Linked DNA regions of Homo sapiens: region 1 is linked to region 2. The links are contacts of gene promoters, found by promoter capture Hi-C in blood cells and fetal thymus (Javierre and others, 2016). All regions are on one chromosome and are shown on one strand. The core of a region is centred on a gene start or on the middle of the fragment in contact, and the rest is flanking DNA. Distances in the headings are between cores, read along the strand shown. Region 1 overlaps ALDH1L1 (aldehyde dehydrogenase 1 family member L1). Region 2 holds the start of CFAP100-DT (CFAP100 divergent transcript).

The links. The method cuts DNA at HindIII sites, captures the fragments that hold promoters and counts their contacts. A CHiCAGO score of 5 or more calls a contact.
Region 1: a contact is called between a fragment that was not itself captured here and the fragment with the promoter of CFAP100-DT in region 2, in 8 of 17 cell types (megakaryocytes, monocytes, endothelial precursors and 5 more). The highest score is 16.5, in megakaryocytes.

Annotation. Positions count from the first base shown.
Region 1 is chr3:126,131,366-126,137,268 of GRCh38, reverse strand. ALDH1L1 (aldehyde dehydrogenase 1 family member L1) reads left to right here. Exons shown (of 23, transcript NM_012190.4): 11 at 386-505; 12 at 1,607-1,734; 13 at 5,735-5,885. Among named protein-coding and RNA genes, the nearest start is that of ALDH1L1-AS2, 46 kb to the left of the region's middle. RefSeq lists enhancers at 1-409, 4,614-5,431 and a silencer at 2,937-3,016. The HindIII fragment of the contact is 1,514 bases long and covers 3,854-5,367 here.
Region 2 is chr3:126,393,088-126,398,203 of GRCh38, reverse strand. It overlaps CFAP100-DT (CFAP100 divergent transcript), which reads left to right and starts at 3,406. Exons shown (of 2, transcript NR_103789.1): 1 at 3,406-3,905; 2 at 4,911-5,116. CFAP100 (cilia and flagella associated protein 100) reads right to left here and starts at 3,295. Exons shown (of 17, transcript NM_182628.3): 1 at 3,226-3,295; 2 at 2,155-2,262. The coding sequence starts at 2,203. RefSeq lists an enhancer at 1-399. The HindIII fragment of the contact is 2,207 bases long and covers 2,905-5,111 here.

The sequences.
Region 1 (5,903 bases), core at 3,361-5,860, 260 kb after region 2:
GATCATATCCCAGAGGTGCCTGGGTTCAGGGAGGAATTGCCAATCCACAGGGATGTGAGTGGTGGGTTGTAGCATGTCTGGGGCTTGCCAAGGGCTTCACTAGCCACTGGCATTTTCCTCTGTCTGAGTCCTCTTAGCCCACCCTAAGGAGGCTGAGGAGCCAGCCCAAGGTGGCACAGGGAGTAGGTGGAAGCGCAGAGCTCCCGCCAGGCAGCCTGGCCTCAGAGCCTGTCCTTTGTCTCTCCCCTGCTCAGCTGTTGCCTACATGCAGCTCTGAAGCCCCAGGAGGCCCCTGGGCAGTGTGTGTGTGTGACTGTGTGGCCATCTGTGTATGCTTCCTGCACCCTGCATGGGTTTGTGCTTGTCACTGGGGCCTTTCTTTCAGGTGGAAATGGCAGTGAACAAGCGCACTGTCCGCATGCCCCACCAGCTCTTCATTGGGGGGGAGTTCGTGGATGCCGAGGGCGCCAAGACCTCTGAGACCATCAATCCCACCGATGGAAGTGTGAGTGCAGGCCCAGCACCCCTTCTCCACATTCCCCAGCCTCCCTGTCCTTCCTTCCCTGCCCCCACTGGCCTCTGGGGGTCCTGACCCTGAGAGTCTCTGCTTGGACATGTGCCTTTGAGAGGGACGGGAAAGAATGCCAGGTCGTTTCCAGCCCACCTTACTGGAGTGGAGTGGAGAGGAGGTGCAGGGTGGTGGCAGGTGGCAGGAGGGCTCGGAAGGGTCTTGCACCTGCTTCAGAGACTGGGAACAGAGTTCCTCCTACCCCAAGGAAGAAATTAGGCCACTGCCACACTTGCACACTTCAGCAGTAGCCCCAGTGTGAGACTACCTTGTCTACTACTTGAGCCCTCCACCGTTAGGACATTCTTCTTCGACCTGAGTCCTGTGTTTGCCACTCCTTCTTGACTGTGACCTTGTGGCATCATGAGCCAAAGCACGCCTATGGTAGATACACACGTGAACATATCCAAAACACAGGTTTCAAAGCAGGGCTTGCTTTTATGGCTGCATACTGACATTTTTCTATCCTGTCCATCCTATAGAATTGGCCAAGTCCTTGCAGAAGACAGAGAGCACACTCAAAATGAGTCATTTGAGAGGAGTTAATGAAAGACTCATCTGCAAAGGGAGAGGGAGGGGGTAGGGACACAGACAGGACAGTGCGGTGCCCTTGGGACGGAGCATCAGGAGGGGCTGAGGATGGGGCCTTGGCAGAAGGGGCATGGCTGTCTTGTGGCGGCAGACAGGAGGCACTGGCTTTGCCCTCCCTGGGCTGCCCTCACCACACCCCACCGGCTCCCCTCACCACACCCAGCAGGCACCAAGGTGAGGGAGCCTGCACGGATGGCACACTCAGGGCAGGAACAGGGTGGGGACCTTGGGGTGTAGACACACAAACAGCCCTCTCCCAGGGCCCTGTCTTCCCTTCCTGTGTAAACCCTCCCAGGGTTGTCCTTTGGCCATGCTTCTCCTCCACACCTGCTCATGTGGACAGGGGCCGCCTCACTGGGGCCCCAGGAGGAGGCCAGGGAAGCAGGCAGGGGTATCTGTGTGCAACTGGCTTAGGGAGAACTTGTCATGGCTCTGCTTCCACTATAGGTCATCTGCCAGGTATCCCTGGCCCAAGTCACCGACGTCGACAAGGCAGTGGCCGCAGCCAAGGATGCCTTTGAGAATGGACGGTGGGGGAAGATCAGTGCGCGGGACCGGGGCCGGCTGATGTACAGGTGGGAGCCCAACATGTACCTGCCAGCCACTGCCACCATCAGCTTCTGGGCAGTGGCACGGGGGGGACTTCTGTGGAGGCCCTTTTACCTGCCAGGAGGAGCTGGGTCCTGGGGAGGCTATGGGACCGAGGCCATCAGATGGGCCAGGCTGGGGCTCCTTGCCTGAGGCTCAGAAAAGGCTTCTCAGAGGAAGGGATATGAGAAACAGGAGACATTTCAGCAGAGTGGGCTCAGGGGAGGTGCCTGGTGGAGGTGAGGAGGTGCGGAAGCCAAGGGATGCTTCCAAAGTGGGCGCAGGCTGGGCCTCCCAGGCAGACAAAGCACTTCCCTCACCAGCCTGGGCTGGAGGGGACTTAGCTCCTGCACGCAGAAGACAGCAAGGGCCAGAGAAGGGCTGGCCTGGTCTCTGCTTGCTCAGCCAGGCTCTGACTACTGGAATCTATAGGTTTCACATTTTCTATTAAAAAAAAAAAAAAAATTTAAGCCAGGGAGAAAGGGGCCTTCTCTCCTTAGTTCCAGTTCAGACGTCTTAGGCAAGGACTTATGATGACTTTAGCTTATGACCTTAGAGTGAGAGGAAGGCCTGGAAGAGAGGTGCTGTGCCCCTGGAACCACAGGGCCTGGCGGGAAGGAGCAGTCACCCTCACAGAGGTGGAGTGATGTTCCTGGGAGAAGAGAGGGTGCGGCCAGATGAGCCGAGAACACAGGTGTCTTGGGGCCTGGCTCTTTCGCTGGGGTCCTGGGAACGTCTAGGGGTGCGAAGCCAAGTTATGGCGTGGTCCCAACGAAGCTCCTCACCTGGCAGGAGAGACCCTGCCTTGGCCTTGCGGTCAGAATGGCTTCTGTTTCTGTTATACTCCAGAGGCCAGAAAAGCCGGGGCAGCCCAGCAGCAGGAAACTAGAGAGAGGGGTTGCAAGAGCATGGTCTGCAAAACCGAATGGAGATTAGGGTTGGGGCAGGGAGGGCTGTGGGGGTCGGGCATGCCCAGCCTTTCATAGGTTCCAGTCCCCTTCGCAAGCCCCTCAATTCTAGAAAGGCACTGGCCACGCCAAGTGGTCCCTAGAGTTCCTGGAGGTCAGGAAGAGCTGTGAAACAAGCACGACAGGTGGCGGGAGAACCTCTGGCCTGGGCCCTGCGTGCGCGTTTGGTGGACCGCACAACCAACAGCGTGCGTGGGGTCCCTCCCTTGGCCTCTGCTGCCATCTGGTGGCTTGTATCATAACAGATTCTACTCACCCATAATGACAGTGAGGGGGGCACCCTGGGCAGCTGTAAGTGGACCCCTTCCTGTCCTATGCAAACTCTCAGGCCCCGTGAAGACCTGGGAGTGCCCATTACTGGTTCTGCCTCAGCTCAGCACAGCAGAGGCTGGGTCTAGGTGTCCCGGAGGGGGCAGTTCAGGAGCTCCCAGATAAATGGCTGCAGAGCACCCTGTCAGGGTGGCGGGACCACCGTGGGTGTTAGGGAACACGAAATTCACTGCAGGAATCAGACATTACACAATTGTGGAAGCTAGGAAGAAGGATCCAGAGGGAGAGTTAGACAAGGTTCCTAGGCAGTCCCCTGAACTCCTGGTAGACAGGATAGAACCTCCAGGGAGTAGGAGCAGCCGTATCCAGCTGCCAAGTGGGGCCACAAAGAGGAGCTCCTGGGAAAGACCGTGGGGGAGCTGCTGGCTCTGCCCAGATACCACTGTGGTCCACGGCTGAGAATCTGACGGTGGTCCAGGCTGCTGGTGGTCAGTAGGGCCGGCCGAGCCTGCTGGGCACCCCTGCATCTGCCCTGCAGACCTTCAGAGGGAGATGGCAGCAGCTTCACTTCTCCTGCACTGCTACCCTGGCACCCAGGGACTGGGCTCTGGGGAGCATGGGTGCCAGGGTGTGAATTCAGCAGCCTAACTGAATTAACAATAGAATAGTCCTGCAAGGCAGCCTCTCAGAGCTTCCCGAATAGTGCACTCGGGTGATGGATACTTTAGAAAGTGTGTCCTGGGAACTGGATTGATGACACAGCCATGTCACACACAGGTGGAATTATCTAGAAATGTGGGGGATTCAAAGGATTGGGGCTGATGAAGGAGAAGGATGTGAGCAGGGGAGGCATGGCACACCACAAGCTTTAGTGGGCTGCAGGTTGGGTAGGGTTGCAGGAGACGAGCAGTGAGACTGTCCCAAGGCTGCCGTGTGGGCTTCCATGTCCAGGTGACAACACACAGTGATGCAGTGGGAGCCTCTGGGTCTGAGGGCTGCCAAGGGCAGTAGCAGCTTTCACCTTATCACCCCAAGGCCCTGTTTTATCAATGGGCAACAACTGCTGGTTGAGGTTCCTCTGGGTATGCAAAGCAGCGGGCCCTAAGTGGCTAAAAACGTACCTGTTTGGGCTACTTTAAGCCTAACTGGGAGTGGGAAAATTTGAGTTTGGTGCCAGCAGGCTTTGGAGCAAATGGGTCTCATTTATATAACAAAGAGGCAGCTCCTGTCTTCGCAGCTGGGGAGCCTAGTCCTCTATCGGCCGCTAGGTGATGTTTTCACTATTTGCTGTACAAAATCGGTTTTTCTCAGGAACCGATTTACGCATGGGCTCTCCTTGCCCAGGGTGGCCTCGCTCAGTTGGTTTTATGCAGCAAACCTGAGCTGAGTGCTTCCCAGTGCTGTGCTGGAGCTGGGCGCTGCAGAGAGCAGGGAACCAGACAGCGCCCTGCCTCCTGCAGCCTGGATTCCAGTGGGCAGGCAAATCGTGATGAAATTATCATCTACCTGAATGTCTGTTACAAACTGTAGTGGTGGGGGAGTGAAGAAAGGCAGAGGAGGCTATCAGAGGATGTGACAGGGAGCTCTGATCAGTCAGAACATGGTTGGGGATTTGGGTCGGCTTCCCATTGAGTCCGTGTCTGAAACAAGTACAGAAGGCTAAGAGGAGAAACAGGAGTGTGGAAAGGGGGCCCAGACATGCAACACAGCCCCTAAAAGCCAAGGCAGGAGGCCTGACTGACCTGAGCACCTGGAAGAGGCCGATGTGAGGAGGAGGAGGGAGGCAGAGGAGCTGGGGTCTTGTGGCCCCAGAATGAAATGGAAATGGCCAGGAGCTGCTTGGCCAGGCACAGAGTTGCAGATGCATCCTGAGTGGCGTGGACAGCTGTCACGGGTCCTGGTGGGTGTAGGCAGGTGAGGACCGGAGCAGGCCTGGGGTGCGTGTGGGCTTCATGGTGCCTGGGTGCAGAGGGGAGCAGTGTGGGAAACGGCTGGCAGGCTTTGGTCCCACACTTGCCTCTGGGCCCGAGCTGCCCTGTCTCCAAGGCTGAGTTTGCTCTGGGCCTGTGGTCTCCACTTTCCCTGTCCACCCTCCCCCTAGGGGATGAGAGGGGCACCCTCATAACTCCCAGGCTGCCCACAGCTGCACATCCGTCAGAATCAAGGGAGGGCAACCCGACCTCGGCATGCTCAGGCTGAAGCCAGTCTGTGTAAACGCGTCAGCCCCCACGTTGCTCCCTAGTCAGCCCTTCTGTGATGGGGATGGGGCCACCTCTCCATCTCTGGAGATGCCAGGCTCAGGAGCATGCCCCCACCATCCTGGACTGAACAGTTGGTTTATTGGTGCTGGAAAGACAGATGGACTTTCTCCTGGTTCAAGCTTTCCGAAGACAGGAAGGGCAGCCTCTTGGGCCATGACCCCTTTGCTGTCTGCAGCAAGTGGGTGAATGCCTCTGCAGGATAATTTCGGAGGAATAGGATAAAGTAGTGGATCCACAAATACTTCAGGAAGGAAGCGAGGGAAGATCGAGGAAAGGAGAGAGGGACAGAGGGTGTCATCCTCACAGCTATCCGGTGGAGTAAACGGTGCTGGCCCATTGCATGGATCAGAAACGGAGGTCCGCACATCTGAGAGTGGCAGAACTGGGGTAGAGGGCAGGACCCCAGCTCCTTGAAGAAGGGCCTTGTGAGGGCAGATGAGGCCGTGCCAGGCCTGAGCCCACCTCCCGCTTCCCCTCACCCTGGTCAGGTTGGCAGATCTCATGGAGCAGCACCAGGAGGAGCTGGCCACCATTGAGGCCCTGGATGCGGGTGCCGTCTACACGCTGGCCCTGAAGACCCACGTGGGCATGTCCATCCAGACCTTCCGCTACTTTGCTGGCTGGTGTGACAAGATCCAGGTGGGGCCCAGGCTCCCA
Region 2 (5,116 bases), core at 2,157-4,656:
CAGCCCCCACCCCTGCCCGCCCTGATGCCTCAAAGGAGGCTGTGGCCAAACCAGCCCCTCTGCCAAGGCTTAGGGAACAGCGTTCTCATCACAAAAGTCATAAAGCTAGACACTGAGCAGTCTCCCTCTTAAATCCTTCCCGTCATCTGGGCAGAGGCCAATAGTCCTCCCGGGCCACAGGCCCTACCCAGTTGGCCCATGCTGGCCTCCTGTCTCTCCCTTGAACACACCACGCCCACTCCCACCTCAGGGCCTTTGGGCCTGGCCAGCCGCCTAGAATGCCCTTTCCCTACTTGGCCTCCAGGCCCCTGCCCTGGGCCCTCTGGTTGAGGGGGGGTCCTATCTGTACTTGGCTCAGCATCCCCAAACCTCTCACTCCAGGTGGCTCAGTGTCATTTTGGCCCCTACCTTTGTCCCAGCTCCTGCAGCTGACCCCAGGACACAGAGCTCAGCAGTCCTCTTGACTGAAGCCCCTGGCCAGGTCCCCTGCCCACCTTGCCCATGCCAACCTCCCTGACCCACCTGACTCTGAGACCCCTGGCCCTGGGTGCCAATCCTGGCTCTGCCTGTCTGGCCTGGTTTTCTCACAAATGCACAGGCCCTCAATCAATCTCGAGGAATTACCAATGCCACAGGGTCATAGGGTACCCCAACTAGGCACTCCCCCTCATACCAATAAACAAATCAATATAGTTTACATGTCCTTCAACTGTCTTGTGGTAGCATAATTATCTGCATTGTTTTATGGGCACATTGAGAGTTAATTTGTTATCTATAAACATTTCAAAGCCATCTTTGTTTTTAAACCTTATTCCAGCCCTTCTTCATTTTAAAATTTACTCTGGAGCAAAAAAAGAACGAGAGAGCGTGTGCACACCTAAGTGTAATGGTGGGGGTCACTGTTTATAGCAGCACACTTTCTGAAACAAGCTAATCACCCATATGAACAGAGAATTGGTTAATAAATTATGATACAGCCATACTGAAAGATTACTATTCTACTCAAAAGCACAAAAAGTATAAGGGAATTCTTGATGTATTGATAAGGAACAGTCTCTACAATGTATGGGTTAATTAAAAAAATCAAGGTGCAGACAGGGTTTTCATTGTGTGATCTCCGTGTAAGAAAAGAACAAACCTCATCTACACACATTTGCCTGTATGTGCACTGAGCTGGTAGCCTAGAAGAGACAGGGGACAGTGGCCATCTCTAAGGAAGGGGCACTGTATGCCTTTGACAGGGTGGGAGAGGCTTTTCACAATGAGGGGCTTTTAACACACTTTTGAATTTTGAACCATGGAATACTATGCCTGGTCAAAACCAAATTAAATTCCAATAAAAAAGCTGAAGGGCCCCAGGTAGGCCTGGGCAGCCTCCCTCAGCGTCGCCCTGTGTGAGATCTTGGCAAATGCATGCAATTCCACTAGGGCAGGCATGTTTCATCCAGGGCCTAGCGCCAGCTGACCACCTCCTTGGAGCCCAGCCTGGCATTTGTGGTCAGAGGGGTGCTGAGAGAAGCTCACCTTCACGGTGACACCTTCCTCATGGTCTGTTGTGGGTTGAACTGTGTCATCCCAATTCGTATGTTGAAGTCCCAACCCCTACTGTCTCAGAATGTGATCTTGTTTGGAAATAAGGTCTTTGCAGCTGTAATTCACTAAGCTGAGGCCATTCTGGAGCGGGGTAGGCCTCCAATCCAATGTGATGGGGTCCCTGTAAAATGGGGAAATTTGGACACAGACACACACAGGCAGAATTCCACATGGGCAGGAAGGCTGAGATGGGAGTGATGCTTCTACAAGCCAAAGAGCACCAAGGATTGCCTGCAAAGCTCTGGAAACCAGGAGAGAGGCCCGGAATGGGTTCTCGCTCAGAGCCCTTGGAGGGACCTAGCCTTTTGGACAACTTGATCTCAGACATCCAGCCCCCAGAGCTTGAGAAAACAAATGTCTGTGACTCCAGCCCCCCAGTTTGTGGTGGTGCTTTGTTACAGCAGCTGCAGGCAATCCATATGCCTTGTTTCAAGGGAAGTAGGCAGATCTATGACTCCTGCCTAGTGTTTGGTTTAGAGCTACCTTAACCTGTGAGGGAGCTGGACAGGCTCCGAAGCTGCCCCTGACCTCTGAGAGTGCCCACCCTGGCCCGGTACTTACTGTCATTGGTCATGTTCTTGGAGACTATAGTGGACGGTATCTCAGACATCTTGGCTGAGGCCCAAGAGGTTGATGCAAGGCTTCTCCTCTTCTAAAGGAGATCCTCACCTGAGGAGTGACACAGTGCTTGAGCCTGGTGGTCCCCAAGCCCAGAGCTTCCTTCCCCCTGGGTGGCTGACAGCCACCGACATTTGCTGAGGGCTCACCTTGTGGGGACACCTGCCGGCTCCCTGCCTCTCCCACCCGAGGGTCCACTCTCACCTCCTGGACTTGGCTCTAGCTGCCTACTTTTTCTGTGCTTAGAACACATCAATCTTGGCCTCAAGCCTTTGCATTTTCGGCCTCCTCGGCCAAAAAATATTCTCCCATACCCAGCTGGGGGTGCTGGGCTTCCTTCTCTTCAATTCCGAGCTCAAATGTCACCTCTTTAGAGAGACCTCTCACCATCCCATCCAAAGTGGTTTCTTCCTCCCCACCCCCATGTGGCCTTTATTTTCTTCTCTGCAATTCCCACTATCTGATTATCACTTTAAAAATCCATTCGTTGTCTATTTCCCCCTAAAATGTGAGCTCCATGAGAACAGGGGGGTCTTTTCTGCTCATCCAAGCTCCTGACATACCCTTGGCACTTCTTAACTTCATCCATTGAATGAATTTTCATTTTTGCAGGGGAGGAAGCAGAGATTCAGCGAGGTGTCCAAAGTCACAGTCAGGAGGGGCTGCCTCTGGAAAGGGCCCCCACTCTAAGCTTGTGCCATTCCTGCCGCATTCCTGCTGCAGCCCCCTATTGGGTGAGCCTGGGGTTCGCAGGGTCGCCTCCTAACACCCGCGCTCTGCAAGGCCCCGAGCCACACAGCGAGGTGCACAGGGATGGTAGGACAGATGGGGTGGATGGTAGATGGGTGTGTTTCAAGCAAGTGGCATGCGAGCGGGCAGCCTTGGAAGGCGCCTTGCAAGTCCGCTCCCGGCCACGCGCGCCCCTCGGGCCCTGGTTTCGCACCCCTGCCGCCGCCCCCACGCGCCCTCACGGACCCCGCGCGCCCCCTCTCCCCGGACCGCGAGCGCACCCACCGACCCCGACTGCCCCGGCTCGCTCCGAAGCCTCCGCGCTGCAGTTCTCAGCTCCAGGAGCAGGGCTCTTGGGTTTACGTCTCCAAGGCAACCATTCTTCAGGCTGGCTGTGACGCCACAAAGGCCGCGGAGGCTGGGCGCTTGAGGGCTGGGCCTGCGGGCCGCGGGACAGGGAGGGCGCGGGGCCGGGCTGCTGGGTCCGAGCTCTGGGCACGATGTCCTCCCTGACGCCGCCAGGACAGCGCCTGGCCCAGGCCTGGGCCTGGTGAACGCGGGTTTCTTCCTCTGAGGTTCAACACTCCGCACTTGGGTTGGCTCCTTTCATCCTGATTGGTTTATTCGCCACGTGCCAAGCACTGAAGAGGGCGTGCAGGATGGATACTTTTGGAGCAAAAATAGCCCTGCTTCTTTCCTGGGGAGGGATCGCACTTTCTAGAGGGGCGGTTTTCAAAGTATGGTCTCAGGACTAGCAGCATCGAAAATGCTGGGAACTCGTTAGAAAAGCAAGTTTTCAATCCTCGCCCCAGAATCAGAAACTCGGGGTGGAGCCCAGCAATGTGTGTCCTGACAAGTCCACGCGCGACCCCAGTGCTGGCTAGGGTTGCAAAGCCACTGCTCTACGGAGCGAGCGAGATCCATCATAGTGGGACAAGCGAGAGGATGAGGCCATACAGACCAGGGCAAGTTTTGAGCGCGCAGATCCACCAGCTGCTTGAAGCCAGGGGCACCAGGATGTCTGGTCCCCCAGCTCAGGGATCCTGTCTCCCCACAAAAAGCAGCAGCAGAAGACCCCTCTTTGAGTTCTGAACATGTTCCTAGATTTTCCCAGTATCTATGGGGATTGAGAGATTGATAAAGGCTGCTTGGAGCTGAAAGCACAGTCAGTGACTCATCTTTTCAGGGACATTTAGGGGCTTCTGGGGGGACTCTGGAGCAGTCTGCAGCCCAGCAATGTAGTCCCAGTGAGGATCCCAGCTGTGCCAGGCTCTGCCTAAGGCCGGTGTAGTGGGTGGGAAGACCACATCCACAACAGGAACTCCATTGGAGCTGGGGGTGGGAGTGAGGAGGAGCTCCCAAGATGGAAGGAGCAGGGATCCCTGAATCTTCGCTGGTAGAATAGTGTCCCAACTTGCAATATCCACAGTGGGCTTTGCACAAGGGAGGAAGAATGTTGTATTGTGTTAAGCCACATATGTGATTTGTGCATGTGTGCATGTGCACATGTGTGCACATGTAGTGTGTGTGTGTGCATGTGTGCACGTGTGTGTTCGTTACAGCTGCTATTGTCAAATGTGCTGAAAGACAAGTTGTCCCTTTACCCTTAGGAGAGAGGCTCCTTACACTGACATTCAAAGTCCTCAATGACCCGGCCCCAGCCTACCTCTGCAGCCTTATCTCCCTACAAACCATCAAAGCAGAACAAAAACCTGTCCCTCCGATTTAGGTTTTAGCAAACCACAAGAAGCACTTCATAAACTGGTGACTCAAGTAGAAAAGTAAGTGTTTTTGTAATGGTTTATCTAAATACAAGGTGCTCTAATGAGACTTTTAGGAAGCTAGAACATAAGTGACCCAAAGAGAACAAAGGTACCCAGGCTCCTGCCCATTCATTGTCATCAACAGATCAGTTTATGAACAGTCGTGAATCTCCCCATGAACCTTACAGAGTGTTTTCTATGTGCCAGGTACTGTTCCACGCACTTGACACCAATCCACCCATTTCACCTGCATGATCACCCTGCCTTTGCATGAGTTGCCGGTGTGGACAGAGCAGGGACACAGTGAGACAGCGGATTCCAGCTTTGCTCTTACCTAGAACACACTGCCTCTCACCAGGAATCGTCCTTCCATTTTATGCAGTTATCCCAGACAATGATGCACAAGCTTTGGG